Regions from separate parts of the Homo sapiens genome. Here region 1 is linked to region 2. The links are contacts of gene promoters, found by promoter capture Hi-C in human tissues and cell types (Jung and others, 2019). All regions are on one chromosome and are shown on one strand. Each heading gives the region's core, a stretch centred on a gene start or on the middle of the fragment in contact. The rest is flanking DNA. Distances are from core to core; before and after follow the strand shown.

What was found. The method cuts DNA at HindIII sites, captures the fragments that hold promoters and counts their contacts. A contact is called where the count stands out against the background at its distance.
Region 1: a contact is called between a fragment that was not itself captured here and the fragment with the promoter of DERL3 in region 2, in 1 of the 25 tissues and cell types used here (aorta).

Annotation. Positions count from the first base shown.
Region 1 is chr22:23,873,489-23,878,061 of GRCh38, forward strand. It overlaps SLC2A11 (solute carrier family 2 member 11), which reads left to right. Exons shown (of 12, transcript NM_001024939.4): 4 at 1,629-1,753; 5 at 3,554-3,683; 6 at 4,233-4,381. Among named protein-coding and RNA genes, the nearest start is that of SLC2A11, 18 kb to the left of the region's middle. The HindIII fragment of the contact is 4,221 bases long and covers 1-3,877 here.
Region 2 is chr22:23,836,239-23,840,338 of GRCh38, forward strand. It overlaps DERL3 (derlin 3), which reads right to left and starts at 2,768. Exons shown (of 7, transcript NM_001002862.3): 1 at 2,657-2,768; 2 at 2,473-2,538; 3 at 2,326-2,399; 4 at 2,114-2,207; 5 at 1,421-1,616; 6 at 826-916; 7 at 1-724. The coding sequence starts at 2,749. The coding sequence ends at 631. SMARCB1 (SWI/SNF related BAF chromatin remodeling complex subunit B1) reads left to right here. Exons shown (of 9, transcript NM_003073.5): 9 at 1-1,771. RefSeq lists a silencer at 2,691-2,993. The HindIII fragment of the contact is 8,930 bases long and covers 1-4,100 here.

The DNA.
Region 1 (4,573 bases), core at 517-3,016, 36 kb after region 2:
TAGTAGAGATGGGGTTTCACCATGTTGGCCAGGCTGGTCTCGAACTTCTGACCTCGTGATCCCCCCACCTCAGCCTCCAAAAATGCTGGGATTATAGGCGTGAGCTGCTGCACCCAGCTGCTGCTATATACTTAAGGCAGATCGGAGGAGGTATATGACTGTTCCAGCAAGGTGAATGCTAAGTGTTTTTGGCAATGTCTGTGTATTGAAATGGAGCAAAATGCACTCACTAGATTGAAGTACTTAATTATTATTAATGGATTTATTAATTCCAGTGAGGAAAATGTATATTATTGTAATTATAATTATTAGTTACAATTGGAGTTACCACTGGATCGAGTTTGTTATAATCTACTGTCATTTTTCATTCTCTAGACACAAGAGACCTAAGCTTTGGCTCATATTTTATCACCAATGTGCTGGTGACTTTGAGCAGAACACTGGCCACTTCTGGTCTTCAGTTTCCCTCTCAGTACAGTGAGCTATATGATCACAGTGAGCTCTCCTGGGTGATCTGTATGGCAGCACTTCTGAGCTCAATATGAGGAGCCAAAGCTAATGCTTCATCATGATGGAGCAGGTGACATTTCCAATGTCCCCTCCTTGGGTTGGTGTCTGTCCCATTGACCAAGGCATTGAGATATACAGCCATTCTGAGTTGTGAGAAGTGACTCTGTAATACATGGAGGAAAATATAAGGAAACTCTACTTGACTATCTATACGTCTCTTCCTTCACTCTTAAAGTCCCTGTTCTTCCTCCCTGGAGTTTTATTGAATCTGAGAAATTACATATTAGTACCTTCATTGTTGCTGTTGAGACAGGGTCTCACTCTGTCACCGAGGCTGGAGTGCAGTGGCGTGATCATGGCTCACTGCAGCCTCGTACTCTTGGGCTCTAGCAATCCTCCCACCTCAGCCTCCTGAGTAGCTGAAATTACAGGCGTGCGCCATCATGCATGGCTAATTTTTTTTTTTTTTTGAGATGGAATTTTGCTCTTGTTGCCCAGGCTGGAGTGCAATGGCGCAATCTTGGCTCACCACAACCTCTACCTCTCGGGTTCAAGCGACTCTCCTGCCTCAGTCTCGAGTAGCTGGGATTACAGGCATGTGCCACCATGCCTGGCTAATTTTGTATTTTTTTTAGTAGAGACAGGGTTTCTCCATGTTGGTCAAGCTGGTCTCAAACTCCTGACCTTAGGTGATCCACCCACCTCAGCATCCCAAAGTGCTGGGATTACAGGCGTGAGCCACCGCGCCCAGCCTAATTTTTTTTGTATTTTTTGTAGAGATAGGGTTTCATCATGTTGACCTGCCTGGTCTCCTGGGATCAGGTGATCTGCCCGCTTCAACCTCCCAAAGTGTTGGGATTAAAGGCATGAGCCACCATGCCCAGCCCAATTTTTACAGATATTTTAAAAATTATGTGTTACAACAGACGTGTAAGTGTAGGAGCTCTCATCTCATTTGACAGCAAGGATACCAGGACTCAAAGTAGTTAATGGCATACTACATACATTTGTGTGTGTGTCTAATTAAGGCTTGTTACAGTTGCAAAGAGTGGTCCCCAGGGATGGTCCCGCTGGACTGAATCACAGCCTCTCTTTCTGTGTGTTTCACTTCCCCCAAGGAAGAAGTCCCTCCTGGTGAATAACATCTTTGTGGTGTCAGCAGCAATCCTGTTTGGATTCAGCCGCAAAGCAGGCTCCTTTGAGATGATCATGCTGGGAAGACTGCTCGTGGGAGTCAATGCAGGTATGGGGTGGGGGCTTCTCATCCTGCCTCTCTATGCCTATTAATTAATAAATTCATTAATTCCTTTTATTTCATTTCTTCCTTCATTTCCTCCCTTTATTCATTCATTTATTTTTTATTTATGCCTACCTTTGTCACAAAAGGATGTAGTATAGTTTATCTTAAAGGGCTCATATAACTAGATATTTAAAGTAGGTACAGAACAATGGAAAAGTTGTGTAGGGGTGGGGGAATAAGCATCTCCAAACTTAACACTAATACAGGTCCCATGTTTGAGTAACACTCTAAGCCATGAGCTTCCTGGTAGCCAACGTGTAAAGGGATATAGGATGAGTTTTCTGATCTTCTCTCAGAAGCAGAATGGCCTGTTAGGTACTCCTCGATTTCTGGGGCTTTTCATGTGAGAGAGCAGAATTTTGAGCACATCCACCTGGGTTTTTAGGGGCTCCAACCAACAAGTCATCTCTTGACGCCCTACTGTTTATACAGCCCAGTGGTGATGTTATCTATATGATGCTATCTATATTAGTTATCTATTTGTGTGAAACAAATAACCCCAAAATTAAGTGACTTAAAATAATCAACATTTATAATCTCACAGTTTCTGTGGGCCAGGAACCCAGGAATGTCTTAGGTAGGTGGCTCTGGCTTGGGGTCTCTGACGGGGCTGTGCTCAAGCTGTCAGGGCTGCAGACATCAGAAGGGTTGGCTGGGGCTGGAGGATCCACTTCCAAGATGCTCCCTCACGTGCCATTGGCAGGAGGTCTCAGCTGCCCACTTTGGGGGGCTCTCCACAGAGCTGCTTGAGGATCTTCACAACATGGCAGCTGGCTTCTTCCAGAGTGATCTGAGGGGGTGAGGAGGGGAGGGAGAGAGAGGGAGACAGGGAGACAGAGAGAGGGCATGCACAAGGAGAAGTCCAGGTGCTTTTTATGTCCTAATTCCAGAGGTCATACACCATTATTCTGCTCATTAGAAGTGAGTTACTAAGAGTAGCCCACGATCCAGGGGAAAGGAACCAGGTCAGACTTTGTCTTCATGTCCCAAGTACCCATCAGAGAAGGAATCCCCAGCTAAATGTTTGTAGGAAGAGCAGGGGCACCTCCGAGACTCCTTGGCAATCAGCATAGCTGCCTTCCTTCCAGTTATCTTTGCCCAACTCGTAGATAGAGGGGCAGGACCTTGATGGGAGAACCCCTAGGTCAGGGAGGGCATACTGCATTCCCAGGGGCGTGACACCACAACACAGTGGCCTCTTAGCTTTTGCCATTTGTCACCCTCTGGGAGGGCGCTGGGGTGCTCTCCAGCTCTCTGTTTTCCTGAGGGCAGTGTAGGTGCCAGGGTCTTCCCTGGGGGAGCCAGGGTGAGGTGAGAGCAGCTGTAGTGATCAATGAAGGAATTGACATGAGTGCTGGGACAGCTGGTAGGCATCCAGGATGTGGTCCTACCTTCCTCCTCCCACCCCCCCGCACAGCCCCGTCAGAGTCCTTCACACTCGGGTCCCAGTGATGGGACCTAGGAAGAGCCCATGAACATGTGGTACTGTGGCCAGGGACCAGGATGGGAGCGGATCTGAGAAAGCCCTCCCTCAGAAGTTCTGAAGAGTAGAGTTGGGATCCTGTTGGCCCTTCATCAGGTGAAGCAGAACCCCTGAGTGTGGGGGGTGAGGGATCAGCCCTCAGTGCCAGGATCCAGTTGAGTGGCTGGACAGTGCTGAGTGGGGCAGGGGAGACAGGCTGGGTGTCGTGGAGTGGGGGTCCCAGCTGGTGGCTGACGTGCCTCTGCTGTGCACACGTCCAGGTGTGAGCATGAACATCCAGCCCATGTACCTGGGGGAGAGCGCCCCTAAGGAGCTCCGAGGAGCTGTGGCCATGAGCTCAGCCATCTTTACGGCTCTGGGGATCGTGATGGGACAGGTGGTCGGACTCAGGTAAGCACCCCTCCCCCACATGCATTGAGTATTTCGGAGATACCAGTAAAAGCGTTTCTTCACCTAAATGTCTCCCCTACCCACTAGTAGATTAAAGCATTATTGCTTTGCATGAAGGCATCGAATCCTCTATCCACATCTCTGCTGCCAATTCACGAAATGGGTATCAGTCAACACACTGCAATGTGAATCACCTTTTCCCATCCTCTCCAGGTCAGGGAGCAAAGAACAGGTCTTCACAGAGGAGAGGGTGAAGATTTGGGCTTTCAAAGACAAACGTGTTCCAGTCATTCCAGAAAAAAGAGGAGAAGGCAGAGCCTGGACCCTTGGGAAGAGGAGTTGCTAGGGATGAGGTGGGGCAGTGGCCCTGTCCTCTCTTGGTCCCAACCTGGGTGGGAGGGATCTTGATGTTCAGACCCAGACTTGGATAGGAAGAGGCACGGGGCAATTGCAGACTCCCTGCAGGGAGGTGTGTAGGTGGGCAGGAGAGCAGGGTGGTAGGACTCTGGCAAAGAGGCATCTGGCCTGGCCTCTCCTCTGCCTCCTTAGGGAGCTCCTAGGTGGCCCTCAGGCCTGGCCCCTGCTGCTGGCCAGCTGCCTGGTGCCCGGGGCGCTCCAGCTCGCCTCCCTGCCTCTGCTCCCTGAAAGCCCGCGCTACCTCCTCATTGACTGTGGAGACACCGAGGCCTGCCTGGCAGGTGAGTCTCTGTCCTTGGGCTCCCAGACTGCCCTTGACCAAGGGATGCATCTCCCCAGAGTATACGGGTCCCCATTTCATAGGTTTCATTTATCAAGGAAAAGCTATCCCTCTCTTTGTGCCTCAATTTCATGATCTGCCTATACCTGCCTTCAATCAGAACTCTATCAAGTGGTTGTCCTAACTGCCAGGC
Region 2 (4,100 bases), core at 1,518-4,017:
TTCTGCACCTGAATCCATGGGGCTTTGGCATCACCAGATGAAAAATGAGGCATACGCCCACCTGTCAGGGTGGCTGATGAGAGACAGGAGAGGCTAGATTGGCATCAGCCTGAAGGCACCACTGGCAGGAACATCTGTAGGCTGGTTTGGCACAACCTAGGAGACGCCTGTCCTGGCCCCAGCAGCCGAAATCTGGTGAACTTCCCCGCTGACTGGCAGGTAGCAGAGGCCTATGGTGGGCAGGACTTGCCCAAGGCCCTGGTGGGGCCAGGATGAGAACCCTGAGCCTGTCACCTGTGAGCTCAAAAGCTCTGCCTGGCAACCTGTGAGCTCAAAGCTCTGCCAGGCAACCATGGGCAGTTTCTTTGCCCTCTGTGGGCACCCCTATCCTACCACCTGCAGTTGGGCTGAGAGGCCACACTGAGTGAGGACGGGGCAGGCATAGAAGGATGTGGCCAGGTGAGATGGGGAAGCCAGTGCTGTGGGCCAAGAGACTGCAGCTCATTCTGTTTATTCAGGTGGGCCCTTGCATGGGCCCAGCCTTTAGGATGGGTTTTTTCTGCCCCAAGTAGGGGTCATGGGTAGGATGGAAGCTGCCAGAAGCCTCTTAGGCCTGGCCCTGGGTGGGGGTCACTGCTGCGGGGGTGGCAGATGGGGTCCTGGCTGTTCCTCAGGGAGGGGCAGGTAATTGGGGTCTTCTGCAGGGGCATCCAGGAGCAGCTTTCTGTGGGGAGGGGCCCGTGTTGAGCACAGGCCAGCACAGGTCCCCATCGGTGGGGATCCTTCTGAGGGTGGGGAGAGGGAGGGAGGGCTCTCAACACTCACAGGAAGCCAGGGGTCTGCAGGAGCCTCTTGCCTCCAGGCTGGTTGGGGAAGACGTCCTCCAGGAAGTAGTAGATATGGCCCACCGCAATCCCTGTGAGACAGCCACGGACTGTGGGGTCACCCTCCACAGCCCAGAGTCCTAGACCAGCAGAGCCTGCCCCAGGCCCCCATCCACAGCCTGGTGGCCCTGCAGGCCCCACAGCATGAGTGCCCCAAAGCCTTGCACAGAGTGCCAGCCCCGGGTTGGCCGTGAAGGACAAGCTTAAAAGGCCCAGAAGCAGGCAGGACCCAGGGAGGGGAGGGCCTGAGAATAGTGGAGGAGTGGGAGCCATGGGGCAGGAACCCTGACCCTCCCATCCTCACTCCCATCAGGACCGTGCAAGCATCAGTAGATCCGTCCTGACGATGCAAATTATGTGGGCCGGCTGGCTTGAGGGGCTGTAAGAGCACAGCAGCTGGGAGGGCAGGAAGATGGGGATGGAGCCAGGTGTGAGGAGAACTCCAGCAAGGATGGGAGAGGGGCCCCAGGGCATAAGCAGCGTGTCCTGAGGGGAGTGGCCAGCCTGGGGCGGACTAGATGTACCGGGAGGCTCACCCAGCAGGTCCACGAGGATGGAGTTGCCCAGCAGCAGCGAGAAGCCCATGAGCGCCCAAGGCAGGAACGGTGCCTGGAAAGTGAGCAGGCCGAAGAAGTTGACCCTCACCCGAGGGCTGCGGCGGCTCCACACGTACACCAGCATGGCCATGAGGGCCTGGCCCAGGAAGAACAGGCTGCCCAGGAGTCCCAGCAGCTGGGCCAGAGTCAAGGTGCTCCGGTGCAGGCCTCAGCCCAAGCCCAGGGCCCCTCTGACTTCCCAAGACCCTGGAATTCTTCCCCTCATCTCCCCTATGTGCTATTCCCTCATCAAGATGAGCCAGTCCAATAAAGGCGACACACTCCACGGGCTTCAGGTCCCACGAAATCTGCCCTGCACACCTACAGCCTCATCCCAGGGCCCAACCACTGCCTGTCCCTGCCCCAGTTTCTCCCGGCTACTCGCATTCAGGGCTCAGCTAGTGGCCCTGACAACCCACCTGGCTCTTTTGTGCATGGCTTTGTATTTTGCATACAGCACTGAAGATCTAGCCCTGACCCCTGCAGCTGAGCACAGAGTGGGCCCTCAACACATACTAAGCTGGAGACAGCGACTGTGTCCCTCTCTGGCATGGCTGTGTTGGCCCCAGGACCAACACAGGCTGGACGCCGAGGCGCCCTAGCCCGAGGTTCCAGAGCCTGCGGGAAGGATACGGTCATAAGGACGCCCCCGAAGAGAAACATGAAGACGAAGTCGGCCGTGCGGCCGCGGAAGGAGCCCTCTTCCAGCATGCGGCAGTAGCGGAACCTACGGCGTCGGTATAGGAAGTGCCACCAGGCGGGGCCTCAGTTTCCCCGTCCCGGCCTCTCTCCCAGCCCGGCCGGCCTGCCCTCCACCCAGCCCGTGTCCGCAGGGCGCAGGATACACGAAGAGCATGTTGAAGAAGAAGCTGAATCCCAGGGGCCCGAAGAAGAGGAAGTTGGTGACGAGCCTCCAGACCTACGGGGGACGGGCGGTCAGGTGCGGGGTGGGTGGGTCGGGCCCACAGGTGCGCGGCGCGGGGCGGCCTCACCTGGAACTTCCGGAACACAAGGTGCGGGTTGAAGTAGAGTTGAAAGGGGCTGAGGAGCTCCAGCTGCTGTGGAACCAGGGGCCAGTCAAGAGCTGCCCGGGAGCCACGCCGTAACCATGGCGACCCTCACCCCTCCCGCCAGAGGCTGTAACCAAGGCGACGTCCGGTCCGCCCGGCCGCTTACCACCGCGGCGGTGGTGAGGACACAGGCTGCGGTGTAAGCCCGCGTCACCGCCGGCACCTGCAGGAACTCGGCCGCTAGTCCCTGCCACGCCATTGAACCTTCTCAAGCACGCGTGGCCCAGCCAGCAACGCGCTCTTTAACCCGCCTCCCAGCCCCGCCTTCGGCCAATCCGCATCCGAGGCGCTGCGCGCCCCAGGCTGAAAAGAGAGCCCCTGAGCCCGACAGCCAATGGAAGGAAGAAGAGGGAAATTAGGGGCGGAAAGGGAGAGTGGGCGGGTAGAGGCTGGTGGCCAATGGGCAGGCGCCAAGGTTGAGCACGTGGCGGTTGTTGTGGCTGCGGTGGTGGCGCGGGAGAACGTGTGGCCAATGAGGAACTGGTCATTTCGCGGCTTTCTAGGAGAGGACCAGTAGCGTGGACCCACGACACCACGGGGGCGGGGCTAAGATCGTATGGGTTACAGGAGCGAAGACCCGAGCAGGCGAGGCAAAACTGGAAAGGGCGGGGCGCGTGGGCGGGGCGCGGAGTGTGGCGGCTCAGACCGTGCTGGCTCACTAACTGACGACCTAGCCACAACGTTGTCCTCGCTGCCAGCCCAAGACAGGCCCACCTAACCCACAGCAGGGAGGCATTCGGGAATGTGTCCAAACCTCCCCAAACGTCCAGGGCCCCACTCAAATGTGCCGGCCGCTGTCGGGGTTCTTCCCCGGGGGCCCAAGGAAGGAGAGGCAGGACTGCGGGATTGAGTCCAGGTGGGGCGCGAGGGTTGAGAGGCGCACCAGAGCAAGTGGACAGGCAGGAGAGGTCCTCAATATTTTGGTGGAAAATAGAAACCAACCTACCCACCTTCCTTCCCTCCTTCCCTCCCTCCCTCCCTCCCTTCCTTCCTTCCACCGTTTATTAAACAACTGTTTGCCTGACACTGTTCTAGATGTTGGGGATGTAGCATGCAATAAAAGACACTGTCTCTTAGAGTCCAGCCAGGAGGCAGTCAATACAATAAGCTAGTGCTGACACTTGATGAGAATATTGCCAAGTGAGGGGTGGGGCCACGTGGGCGTCCGCAGTGCCAGGTGGGGTGACCTGGGATACCTCTAAAGTTTGTCACTTTGCAAGCATCCCTGTGTCCATCAGGATGGTAACTGTGAAAAGCAAAACAATAAAACAAAATAAGTGTTGGCGAGGATATGGGGAAATTGGAACCCTTGGGCACCGTTGGTGGGAATATAAAATGGTGCATCCGCTGTGAAAAACAATATGATCATGACTCAAAAAATTAAAAATAGAATTACCGTATGATCCAGCAATGCTGCTTGTGGGTACACATTCAAAAGAATCAAAAGCAGGGACTTGAACAGATGTTCATACACCCATGTTCATGGCCCCATTATTCACAATGGTTCACATCAGTTCACCCACCGATGAGACAGACGAAATGTGCTGTCT